2 separate regions of the Homo sapiens genome follow, and region 2 is linked to region 1. Evidence: promoter capture Hi-C in 16 types of primary human blood cells and fetal thymus (Javierre and others, 2016). All regions are on one chromosome and are shown on one strand. Each heading gives the region's core, a stretch centred on a gene start or on the middle of the fragment in contact. The rest is flanking DNA. Distances are from core to core; before and after follow the strand shown. Region 1 holds the start of TRIM60 (tripartite motif containing 60). Region 2 overlaps CPE (carboxypeptidase E).

The links. Contacts are between HindIII fragments. The CHiCAGO score rates a contact against its expected background, and 5 or more counts as called.
Region 2: a fragment that was not itself captured here is called in contact with the fragment with the promoter of TRIM60 in region 1 in 2 of 17 cell types (total CD8 T cells and monocytes); the score reaches 5.5 in total CD8 T cells.

What each region holds. Positions count from the first base shown.
Region 1 is chr4:165,028,781-165,035,136 of GRCh38, reverse strand. TRIM60 (tripartite motif containing 60) reads right to left here and starts at 3,138. Exons shown (of 3, transcript NM_152620.3): 1 at 3,025-3,138. RefSeq lists an enhancer at 2,980-3,636. The HindIII fragment of the contact is 7,154 bases long and covers 1-6,356 here.
Region 2 is chr4:165,478,562-165,484,917 of GRCh38, reverse strand. CPE (carboxypeptidase E) reads right to left here. Exons shown (of 9, transcript NM_001873.4): 4 at 2,559-2,676; 5 at 314-496. Among named protein-coding and RNA genes, the nearest start is that of MIR578, 95 kb to the right of the region's middle. The HindIII fragment of the contact is 1,329 bases long and covers 2,055-3,383 here.

The DNA of each region.
Region 1 (6,356 bases), core at 1,889-4,388:
GTCATGATTGTGCCATTATACTCCAGTCTGGGTGACAGAGAGAGATACCTCAAAAAAATTAAGTTATAACCTCAAATAATACTATGCTGACTCCTGTGGTCATTTTAGCAAATCACCAAACCTAGGGGTGGTCTTGGGGATACTAATACAGGTATTATTACAAAATCTTATAAAATTTCCAAGTGAAAAGTGCATTTAGAAATCTAGCCAAACTGCCTACATTTATGTCATTAACTGTCGTAGTATGTATAGTATAGTACTATTTTGGTCTAAAAGCTACTATATCTCTCACTGCTCCTAATTAGAAAAGGTGTTAACTGTTCATAGCAGTAGTCGGGCAGAAAATGTCATGTACATTCCAATTTTGAAGGGACAGTAAGGTATTATTACATCTTAAAAATTATAATATTTTTCAATCATAAGGAATTAAAATAAAATAATAATGTGTCCTTTAACTCTTCCCACCTTCCAATTTAACATTTTCATAAATAACAATGTCATTGCAAAAGCTCCTAATCCTTGTTTTAACACACCATGTTTAATGGATGCTTTGGGGCTGAGTAAATTTGAAAAGGAAGTTTTAAGCATTCTGAACAAAGCTGTACAGCCAATACATTGCAAAATATGACTGGAATTTTTTAAATTATAAGAAAGAACCACATTGCTGTAAAAAAGGGTATTTCATGGACGGGCGCAGTGGCTCACGCCTGTAATCCCAGCACTTTGGGAGGCCGAGGTGGGTGGATCATGAGGTCTGGAGTTCGAGACCAGCCTGACTAACATGGTGAAACCCCGTCTCTACTAACAATACAAAAATTAGCCAGGTGTAGTGGCGTGCGCCTGTAATCCCAGCTCCTCAGAAAGGCTGGGGCAGGAGAATTGCTTGAACCCAGGAGGTGGAGGTTGCAGTGAGCCGAGATCACGCCACTGCACTCCATCCTGGGCGACAGAGTGAGAGTCATCTTAAAAAAAAAAAAAAAGTGTATTTCATTTAAAATAAAAAGGTGCAGGGAACATTCCTGCATAGATCCTGGAACTCAATGGTTCGTCCTTCCCCACACACTCCAGCTTCCCCTAACCCATCTTCCAGACTCAGGCAATGAAGTTTAAAGAACAGCATTATAAGCCACTCTTCTCAGTCCAAGCTATAAACATTAGCCTACTATAGTAACTATCTTCTGATACCTGAAGACAAGGCCCCTGTCTCCCAGCATCTATGGGAGAGTTGGGGCCTGACTTCCTTAAGTGCCAGTGAGCAAACCTGGGTGTGTTTCACATGACCCAACCACCCCTTTCCCACTTTTTGTAATTTTTCACTTCCCTGACTCTACTGAGCGCCAACTCACTACCTTCATTCCCCAGTTCCCCTTTGAAGCACTTGGTCACCTCTGTACAAATCACAGTTGAGTTCTGTTCATGCTGAATTCTCCCTATTGCAATAGTACAGTACTGATTAAAATCTGTCCTTATGACTACCCAGTGTCTGGCTTTATTTTTGACATGCTCTATCCCGTCAATCAATTCCATAACTCTATAGTTTCCAAACACAGATCTAATCCTATAACCTTCCGATTTCCAATGGAATGGCTTTTCTTACTCTTAAGTATTACAAGACTCACCAACATCTGGACTTTACTCTTTTCCTGACTCCACATATCTATCATACTGCAGATTACAGTTGAGATTTTTACATTTATTTTTGTCAACCTTTGGTTAAGGACACTGGAGAGTACAGTTCACGGTCTGAATTCTTCCTTATTTTCCTCACAACTGAATTACCAACTCTGATTCTTATGCTGGTGTACAACGTGTGTTCAATAATTATTAGGCTAATAAATCAAACCTGCAGTAGATTCCCTACTCTCAAAATTCAACCTCTACTGCTTGAGATCTTGTCACATTAAAAAAGAAAAATTCAACCTCTATTACCTTATTTATTTTACTTTTTGAGACAGGATCTCACTCTGTCGCCAAGGCTGGAGTGCAGTGGCGCGATCTCCATTCACTGCAACCTCTGCCTCCAGGCTCAAGCGATCCTCGCACCTCAGCCTCCCGAGTAGCTGGGACCACAGGCACGCCCCACCATGCCCGGATTTTTTTTTTTTTTTTTGTAGAGACAGGGGTCTCACTATGTTGCCCAGGCACGAGCGTGAGCTAGAACTCCTGGGTTCAAGCGATCCTCCCGCATCGGCCTCCTCATGGGGTTACAGGTGTGAGCCACCGCGCCTGGCTCCTACTCTGATTCTTGTGCTGGTTCATAGTGTGGGCTCAGTGAATATAAATCAAACCTGTGGGAGATTCCCAGATCTCAAGATTCAACCTCTATTACTTTAGATGATACGAAACGTAAGTGAGCCTAAACTTTCTCATCCGTAGCAGTTTCCTGACAGCCAGATCCTTGTGAGGACGGAAGGAGACAAAATCCGCCAGAGAAGTGCTGGCGCTGTAGGGTGGGAGGTCCTTCCTTAACGCTCCCACCATAATTTTTGGAGATCACGTGGCCACTTCCCAAACTGGTGTTCAGATCAGAATCTTCTTTAAAGTTCAATCATCGGGGTCCCACTGCCTCCGCGGCGAAAACAGAATCCGGCCGAGCACGGTGGCTCACGCCTGTAACCCCAGCACTTTGGAAGGCCGAGGCGGGCGGACCACCTGAGGTCGGAAGTTCGACACCAGCCTGGCCAACATGGAGAAACCTCGTCTCTACTAAAAATACAAAAATTAGCTGGGTGTGGTGGCGAGCGCCTGTAATCCCAGCTACTCAGGAGGCTGAGACAGGAGAATCGCTTGAATCCGGGAGGCGGAGGTTGCAGTGAGGCGAGATTGCGCCACTGCACTCCAGCGTGGGTGACAGAGCGAGACTCCGTCTCAGAAACAAAAAAAAGGATCCACAGTCTGAGCTCAGTCGTGGACAGGTCGCGACCCCGAGGTTTGGGCACAGCTGATACTCAGGAAGCCCCTGCCCAGTTAAGTAAGCCTCCCGCCAGGCCCTACTGCGCCTTTCCTGCGGCCCTCCCAGCTTACCTGGAGCAGTTGGACCGGCGGCTCAGGCCTGATGCTGTGCAGGACCCATGGAACCCCGCGGGGCGCAGAGCGGAAACCCTCACACAACCCTGGGCGCCTTGGTTTTCGAGTTTTAGGCATACAATTGACCAGCGCGGTGGTTGGCTGCTCCACCGGAAGTGGGCGGGAAAGGCCTGAGCATGCTCAATGCCGCAGGGTGCAGGGAGCGTGAGAAGATTCTGAGGAGAGCCTAGGGCGGTTCCCTCCGTGGTGGGGTCCCTGATGGCTTCAGTGGGTCATTTAAATCACAATGGCAATCTTTTCAGATTTTTCATTCCTATGAGCAACTTTTTTTTTTTCTTTTTTTTTGAGACAGGGTCTGGTGCGGTCTCGGCTCACTGTAGTCTCGACCATCCGGGCTCAAACGATCCTCCCACTTCACAGGCGCGCGCCACCACGCCCAGCTGATTGTTGTATTTTTTGGTGGAGACTGGGTTTCGCCACGTTCCCCGGGCTGGTCTCGAACTCATGGGCTCAAGCGATCCGCCTGCCTCGCTGTGAGCCACCGCGCCCGGCCAGGGTGGTTAGTTTTAAAATGCAAGAGGAATAATCAGCTCTTTGGATCAGTTTGCGTCTCTGGTTGAGAGGCTGCGTAGTTACCACCCTGGAGATTAGGCCCCACCCTACCAACTAAGACTCACCAAGGTCTCGTCTGAGGAATTGATATTTAAAGTAGATTTTAAGGGACGAGTATGAGTTTGTTGGACAAACTTGACGGTAAAATCTTCAAGGCTGAAGGATTAGTCCTTGTGAGGAGCCTCTTAAGTCTTATAACTTGGTAAATGAGACAGTGAAAGAGGCTAATATTTGCAGAAGAAGTCATAGAATCGGCATAGCACTTTTTTATTTATTTATTTATTTTTGAGACGGAGTCTCGCTGTGTTGCCCAGGCTGGAGTGCAGTGGCACGATCTCGGCTCACTGCAAGCTCTGCCTCCCGGGTTCACGCTGTTCTCCTGCCTCAGCCCCCCGAGTGGCTAGGACTACAGGCGCCCGACACCACGCCCAGCTAATTTTTTCTATTTTTTAGTAGAGACGGGGTTTCACTCTGTTAGCCAGGATGGTCTCGATCTCCTGACCTCGTGATCCACCCGTCTCGGCCTCCCAAAGTGCTGGGATTACAGGCGTGAGCCATCGCGCCTGGCCGGCGCACTTTTCTGTTTAAAATGTAGGGCTACTTGGCCAGGCGCGGTGGTTCACACATGCAATCCCAGCACTTTGGGAGGCCAAGGCGGGCGGATCAGCTGAGGTCGGGAGTTCGAGACCAACCTGGCTAAAGTGGCAAAACCCCGTCTCTCTAAAAATACAAAAAATTAGCCGGGCATGGTGGTGCATGCCTGTAATCCCAGCTACTCGGGAGGCTGAGGCAGGAGAAGAGCTTGGACCCGGGAGGCGGAGGTTGCAGTGAGCCAAGATCGGGTCACTGCACTCCAGCCTGGGCAATAGAGTGAGACTCAGTCTCAAAATAAAAATAAAAAATAAATAAATAAAATAACTTAGAGCTACCTTCCCAGAAAAATACCCTCTTGTGATGAAGTCTGAGATTTGATGGAAGAGTGGGAAGTAGGAACAGGGAACAATAAGTGAAATCTTCAAATCTTCACACCTTAGTGCAGAAGATGCAAACAGAGAGGATGATAAAGGCTGTGGTTGGGAGGACACTGATCTGGAGTCTGACCAATGGGATGAAGGAAAGGAAACTCTAAAGGCTTAAGGCTGAATGGGGCCAGATTCCACCATAAAATTAAACCAAAGGCTGGGCGGGTGGCTCACGCCTGTAATCCCAGCACTTTGGAAGACCAAATGGAGAGGATTGCTTGAGGCCCGGAGTTCAAGACCAGCCTGAGTGACAGAGCGAGACTGACTCAAAACAGAAACAGAAAAGATGGATTGTATTGTGCTCCTGCTCTGGATGGAGGACCACGAATCTGTTCTGCAAGGACATAAGGAGCTCATGGTCCTCTGTGTACCCCTGACTAGTGCACACAGGGCATCTCTGAGCCTCTGCTGGGAACAGAATATCTCAGTGAGAATCACCTTAGGGGTACAGGTGAGGGAGACTCAGTAAAAGGCATGGAGCCTTCAGCAGGACCTAAGCTGGGGGTAGCCACATGGGAAAGAACCTTGCTGACTCATGTATTTTAATTTTTAGCAATACTTATGTACTTTAGAAACACATATATTTTAATATATATTTAAAATTTCATATAATTATAAATATTTTTATTGTATTATAGTAGCATGATATGTATATATTATATGTAAATATTTTACATGATATGTATATATTACCTATAAAAATTACGTATTTTATTTAATGAAAATTAAAATTTTTCTTATGGTATTATGTTAACATATGTATGTACACATAAACATGTGCAGTTCACTTTTTAACTCTTAAATCTTCAATGAGGAAGTTCTTTTATCATATGGGAATTGAAGAATTATACTTCTTGGAAGGAGCTTCACGCCAATTTACTTGTGGTCCCTCTAATTTTGTCAAAGGTGCTCTCTGTAAACAGAATATCTATCATTACAGTCAGCAGAAACATGAGAAACAAAAAAAATCTTTGGAATATCTTGAATTTGTGCCACATAAAACTCCTATTAAAAAATCTATATTCGTATTTATCCTTACATTAAATTAAAAGACATTGAGAGGCACTATTAGCAATCATTTTTGTATAATCATCAGACATCTACCTTTCCAAATTGAATTATAATATTTGATAAAAATATGTGCTTGAAATTAGAACCTAGTTAGGTGACTATTTTGTATTTGATTAGTTTGACTTTTAAATCTACATAGATCCCCAAGTTTCTCCTGCACGTTTTTATTTTCTTGCTTTTCTTGGTTGAAGAAACATGGTGGATATTCCTGTAGTTGCCAAGAGTTTGGATTTTACTAATTGATCTCTTTTTTTTTTTTTTTTTGAGACAGAGTTTCATTCTTGTTGCCCAGGCTGGAGTGCAATCGGCTCACTGCAAACTCCACCTTCTGGGTTCAAGCAATTCTTCTGCCTCAGCCTCCTGAGTAGCTGGGATTACAGGTATGCACCAGCACGCCTGGCTAATATTTTTTGTTTGTTTGTTTGTTTTAGTAGAGAAGGGGTTTCTCCATGTTGGTCAGGCTGGTCTCGAACTCCCGACCTCAGGTGATCCGCCCGCCTTGGCCTCCCAAAGTGCTGGGATTACAGGCATGAGCCACTGCACCCGGCCTGGCTTTTACTAATTGACTGCTGAGATGGTCCTTAGTAGTTTTCTCTGTCCCTGCATATCTTCTAATAGGTTATT
Region 2 (6,356 bases), core at 1,470-3,969, 450 kb before region 1:
TTCCCTAAGGCTTGAATTTGGAAAGTAGGGTAGTTAACAATATTCAATTTATTATTTTCCAAATGAATGTCTTCAGTTCATTTCCTGTATCTCTTCAATTAGCATCACAATTTTTAAAATCCACAAAAACAAAATTATACATAGTAATCATTCACGCAAAAAGTTGACTTTAATGGAAGAACTATAGATTCAGTCTACTTTTTAATGATGGAGGACGATTGAAGATTCTCTAAATCTAAATCACTCTCTAAACCTAAATGGTCATTGTAAATAAGCTACAATCACATAATCAGAGAGCACAATGGAAACTCACCTCCAGGTACGCTGTACCAAGCACCACCGTTGGTGGTTCCATCTACAAAGCTGCTGTCATCATCATTCTTGCGACATGGTGGCCGATTGGGGTCAGACATGGCCGGGTTGAAAGAAGAGTATGCCCGGGCCAAGCTTTGGAAAATGGCGTCATCTGGGGAGGAGCTGTATTCGTGAGCACTACCTAGAAAACAAATCCACAAGATTAAAGAAACAGACACAGACCAAGCAGCACAGCATGTTTTCTAAAGAGTGATTCAGTATTGAGTAATTGTATTGTTGATGTATTTTTTTAGCTACATAACTATGGGAAAGAGGTAAAATTTAAATACTAAATAATTACACTTAGTTTTAAGTTACAAAATTTCCATTCCTAATACTACAAAGTAGAAATTGGGTAGAATGTACATTCTACTTATGAGTTGAAAGCTTTGCAGGGAAAGGTAATAAAGTCATAGTAAACTAGGCCTGGGAGAATAGGAGGAAGATTTTTATCATTAAATCTTTAATTTAAAAAATGTACCTATACTAACCTCATACCCACTATGAATCATTCTCATATATACCATTCAATATCTGGTTTTATATTTTTTAAATCTCCTGTATGTATTATAGAAATAAATAACATATTTTGATACACTGTGTTCTTATTCATGCATTATAAATTATGCAGGCCTACAAGTTTCCCAATTATCAACAAACCACAAAGTCTTCAAATTTATTTAACAATGTTATTTCCCCAAAGACGTTCTTCAACACTCAGTTTCCAATATCTAAAATTATCATCCCAACAACCCCATTAAAAAGTGGGCAAAGGACAAGAACAGACTTTTCTCAAAAGAAGACATACAAGCAGTCAAAATAATTGGAAAAATCCTCAACATCACTAATCATCTGAGAAAGGCAAATTAAAACCACAATATCATATTACATGACTTAGAATGGCTATGATTAAAAAGTCAAAAAACAACAGATGTTGTCGTGGATTCCCACCAGTGTTGGTGGAAATGTAAATTAATATAACTTCTATGAGGAACAGTACAGAGATTTCTCAAAGAACTAAAAATAGAACTACCATTCAACCTAGTAATCCCACTACTGAGTATGCATCCAAAGGAAAAGAAATTATTATATAAAGAAGACATGTGCACTCATATGTTTATGGCAGCACTATTCACAAAAGCAGAGTCATGGAATCAACCTAATTGTCCATCAATGGTTGATTAGATAAAGAAAATGTGGTACATATACACTATGCAATACTAAGCAGCCATTAAAAAGAATGAAATCATGTATTTTGCAACGACATGGATGGAGCTAGGAGCCATTATCTGGAGCGAAATAATTCAGAAATCAAATACCACATACTCTCATTTATAAGTGGAAGCTAAACAATGGGTGTACCTGGACATTAAGATGGAAATAATAGACCCTGGGGACTCCAAAAGCGGGGAGGATGGGAGGAGGTGAGGGGTGAAAAATTACCTATTGAGTTCACTCTTTTGGTGATGGGTACCCTAGAAACCCAAACCTCACCATTATGTAATATATCCGTGTAACAAACCTACACAGGTACCCCGAATCTAAAATTAAAAAAAAAAAAACAAACTAATCATCCTGTTTTTACAAAAAGCTAACTCTTCAAAGGCCCCAGAAAATAGATCCAAAGCAGGAAATTCCCTGGAGCAACAAAAAACAATTTGAAAATATCTGTCTGGCTAAAGCTTGCTTTGTCTGAAGCTTAACTAAAACTAGTTAGAGAAAGCCAAAGCACCACTTCCCCTCCCTGACACCACCAGAAACAGTTCCAAATGCAAAACTGTGTCAACACAATAAGACACATGTAGAGATCCACAGGGATCCTGATCAAGCACCAAGAGGCTGCCCCCATGTTTAAGCCATCTTCTACATGAACCTACACAACTTCTGTAATCTCTCCACTTTATCAGTGTCCAAGAGTGACCCAAGTTTATGACGTGTGTTTTCTCCCTTTCTGTTGGCTAGGTACTGTCAAGATCACGTTTCTCTTCACCTAACCTATTGAAAAAGTGAGTCCTTTTCTGCCAAATAGATATGCCAACACCATATGAAATGATTAGGAGAGCTTCCTGTTAAACATAGTTCTTTCTTCAGGCAAAAATCACTTAATGTTCAGTTCCTTAAAAAAAATTACAGAAATCATCTTATAAAACCTTGTACAGTGTTATAAACTTTGAACCAATAAGAGAAGCAGAAAGAATACCTACCACTCCGCGTCTCATCATATGGATAATTGGCCACAAGGTCTCCTCCATGGAGATTGGCAGAAAGCACAAAAGGAATATCCATAATCCAATGAATGACAGCCTTGGTCTCAGGAGCAAGCTGTTCAGATGAGAGATTAAAAGGATTATAAATTTAATAATCATTGGTATGATCACTTGACAGAAAAGACATAGGAAAGGTAAAGGAAAAAACTGAAAGCTGGTCATATTTCAACTATTTTGCTGTTGTCCTCACAGAAAAAATAAAGGTTCCTACAAAAGCAGTATTCCTCATGTCTAACTTTCTCAGATTTTTAATAAAAAATGTTTCAAAAGTGTTTAAATTTCTTTCAAAGTTTTATTTTTGTGGGCTGCCAGTTATCCTCTCTTTGTAACTTGAAAACCAGCATGCAACTCACAAATTTTGGGACATCGCTGTCTGATCTGTAGTGGTTCACACATTGTTATTATGAATAGTTAAGGATAATATGAGGAGAAAAGAAAATAATTGAACTGCAGAACAAGATTTGTCCTCTGTGGTGGTTCAAACATGTGGTAAAGTTTATTTCCAAATTTTGCTTACTATTTTCCCAACTTCCCTCAATTACTTCAAACATTGTTCCTATCAAAGAATATTAGGTTGAGTCTCTTTCAGAGTGGACTGTAAAATATGTTTACTTTGGAATGGTCATCTTAAATTTTAAAATAAAGGCAAGTTTCAAGAATTCATGTTAAGTCTTTAGAATGATTCACTGCCCCTCATATCTTGGAAGCAAAACAAAGGAAAAAAGAAATGTATACCAAAGAAATAATGTGGAGCCAAAAGCTTGATACTTTTATGCAATGAGTTTTTAATAGCAACTAGGAAGACTCTCAAACCCCAAGTGCTTCTCTGATGAAAAGAAAAGATTTTACTGGCAACGTGATCCATGCTGTTCTTTAGGACAGAAAATCTAATGGCATCAGTAGGGTTTGATGGTTATAAGATCTCATATTTGTATAGCTCTGCTCTGTTTATGAATAGTTCTGACATGAACTATTTTACTGCACTTCAACATTCGTATTGGATATGCAAAGATATTCATACCCATTTCACAAGGAGGAATCTGAAAGTTGGGTGTGTTAAATAGCATATCTAAGTTCACACAGCTAAGAGTTCACATCCAGTCAGTGAAACCCTAAGGCTCACGCTGTTTCTAGTGTATCAGCTTTAGTCTATTAAAATTATCCTATTTTCACATAAGCTACTGTTAACTGTGGAAAAGTGTGATTTAGAGTAGGAGGTTGTTTTTATTATTTTTCATTTGGTTGGTAGATCTTATTTTTGCTAAAAAAAAAAAAAAAAATATATATATATATATATATATCCATTGTAGAAAATGTAGAGACAGACAAGAACAAAGAAGAAAATTAAAATTACCCATAATTTTACCACCTAAAGATATCCACTACTAACATTTGTATATATCTCTTTTTCAGTCTTTTCCCAATGTATTTATATAATTTTTAAATGTGATCATTTATATGCCATTTTATATACTGCTTTTTTTGCTTGAAAACAGATAATGAACACCTTTTCATGTTATTAAATACCCTTCTAAAATGATATTTTAATGGCTGAGTGGCAGCCAATGTCTGGATATACCATTCTTAAATACTAATAAAATGATAGCTAATACTTATTAAACACTTTCTGTGTCAGACATTCAATTCTCCCATTTACTCTATGAAATAGGGACTACATTTTCCCCCACCCTACAGATGAGTAAACTGAGATGTAGAGAAGTTAGGGAACAGCATGAGGCCACTCAGCTGGTACTGGCAGAGGCTGGTCTCAAGCCCAGCCAGGCCGGCTACACAGCCACTACACTAGTACTAGTAATCTCCAAGAGGTGATACTGGGATGTTTATATTTTAAAAATTAAAAATACTATGAACACCTTTGTAGCTACCATTTGTCCAAATCTGTACTTTCCTTAGAGAAATCCCTAGAAATTGAATGACTTGACCAAAAGCTAAGCACGTTTTTAGCTAAAAATGTTTTAAGTTAAAATCTATATTAGCTAAAACTGTTTACATTTAAAAATGTATTCCAAACTGCATTCCTGTAAGGTACAGAAATATAACCAGCAACAGTATAATAAACCTTCCATCTCTAATCTTTTTAAGAACAATGGAATTATTATGTGTTTTAAAGTGTGTCACTTTGATTAATGACAATAGAATTTTTAAAGTTTGCATTATTTTAATTAACTAATAAAACTAGAAGTTTTTTATATTTAGAGATTATTTCTATTTATTCTTCTGTGACATATTTATATGGTTTAACTAATTTTTCTATTGAAATGCATAGCTTTTTTTTTTTTTTTTTGAGGCGGAGTCTCACTCTGTCACCCAGGCTAGAGTGCAGTGGAGCGATCTTGGTTCACTGCAAGCTCCGCCTCCCGGGTTCACGCCATTCTCCTGCCTCCGCCTCCCGCGTAGCTGGGACTACAGGTGCCTGCCACCACACCTGGCTAATTTTTTTGTATTTTTAGTAGAGACGAGTTTTCACTGTGTTAGCCAGGATGGTCTCGATCTCCTGACCTCGTGATCCGCCCGCCTCGGCCTCCCAAAGTGCTGGGAGAAATGCATAGCTTTTCTTTTTGACTTGCAAGAGTTGTTTAGTAAAAAAAATTAGCTCTGACCTACACACTATAAATATTTTCTAAGTGTGTCATGTGCCTTTCAAATTTTGTAATTAAAATACAGAGCATTAAGATATTTATGTTAAGTACATAACATCAAACCTATTGATCTTTTCTTTATGGTCTCTTTGCTTTTCCATTTCATTCATTCGTTCAATAAGTATTAAGTGACCACTATGTGCTAGTGTCTATACAAGAAATTTAGAAAGTTCTATCCCCCTCTAAGTATTACATCCTTACGAAAGTTTTCTAGTTTCATACTTTTTAAACTTAAATTGTAGTGTCTAGAATTTATTTTGATCTATGCTGTTATTTATGAGATGGATTTGTCTCAATTCCATGTATTCAATAATGCATTCTTTCCACAGGGATCTGAAATACACTCTTATTATATTTTGATTTAAATCAACCTAAAAATAACTAATATGGGAGATGAAATCAAAATACTCTATAATGCATATGCTTTTTTAAGTGAATTTATGTTTTTTATATCCAATTGCTAACATGACATGAATATTATATGAGATGAGTTTAACACACTCTTCTATAATATTCTATTCAAAAGTTTTTCTTTTACTATTGAATTTATTTTCAGTCCTCCTCTTCTTTGTACATCTCTCATTCCCTCTATTTTCTTTAACCCAATGGCAGATATTGACAAATATTCACATTTCAATAAGTTCAGAAGAGGCAAAATCACCATGGTTTGGAGAATCATTGAGGACTTCAGGAAGGAGGTGGAACTTCACCAAGTCCAGGGACGAATTGGGGTAGGAGAAGAAAAGAGAAAAGAGTAGTAAAAATAAAGAAGTTGGAAGTACCCATGGCCCATCTGTCGGGGGTAAGGAAAATACTCTCTGAGAGGGAGGGTTGGTTTTAGTGGGAGTTAGGAGGCAAAGCCATGCCAAGGCAGACTGTATTCCTGTGTTTGTTATCCACCTAAAAGTGTTCAGAATGGCTTGCACAGTATGCACCATATATTTACAGGTTGATACAGCCATAAAAAATAATTTTGAAAGGTACGTATCAAAATGTTAATGGTGTTCACTGAAGATTGTAGGGTAATGGATTCTTCTTTCTCCTTATTTGCATGTTTTAATTTTTGTAATAAAAT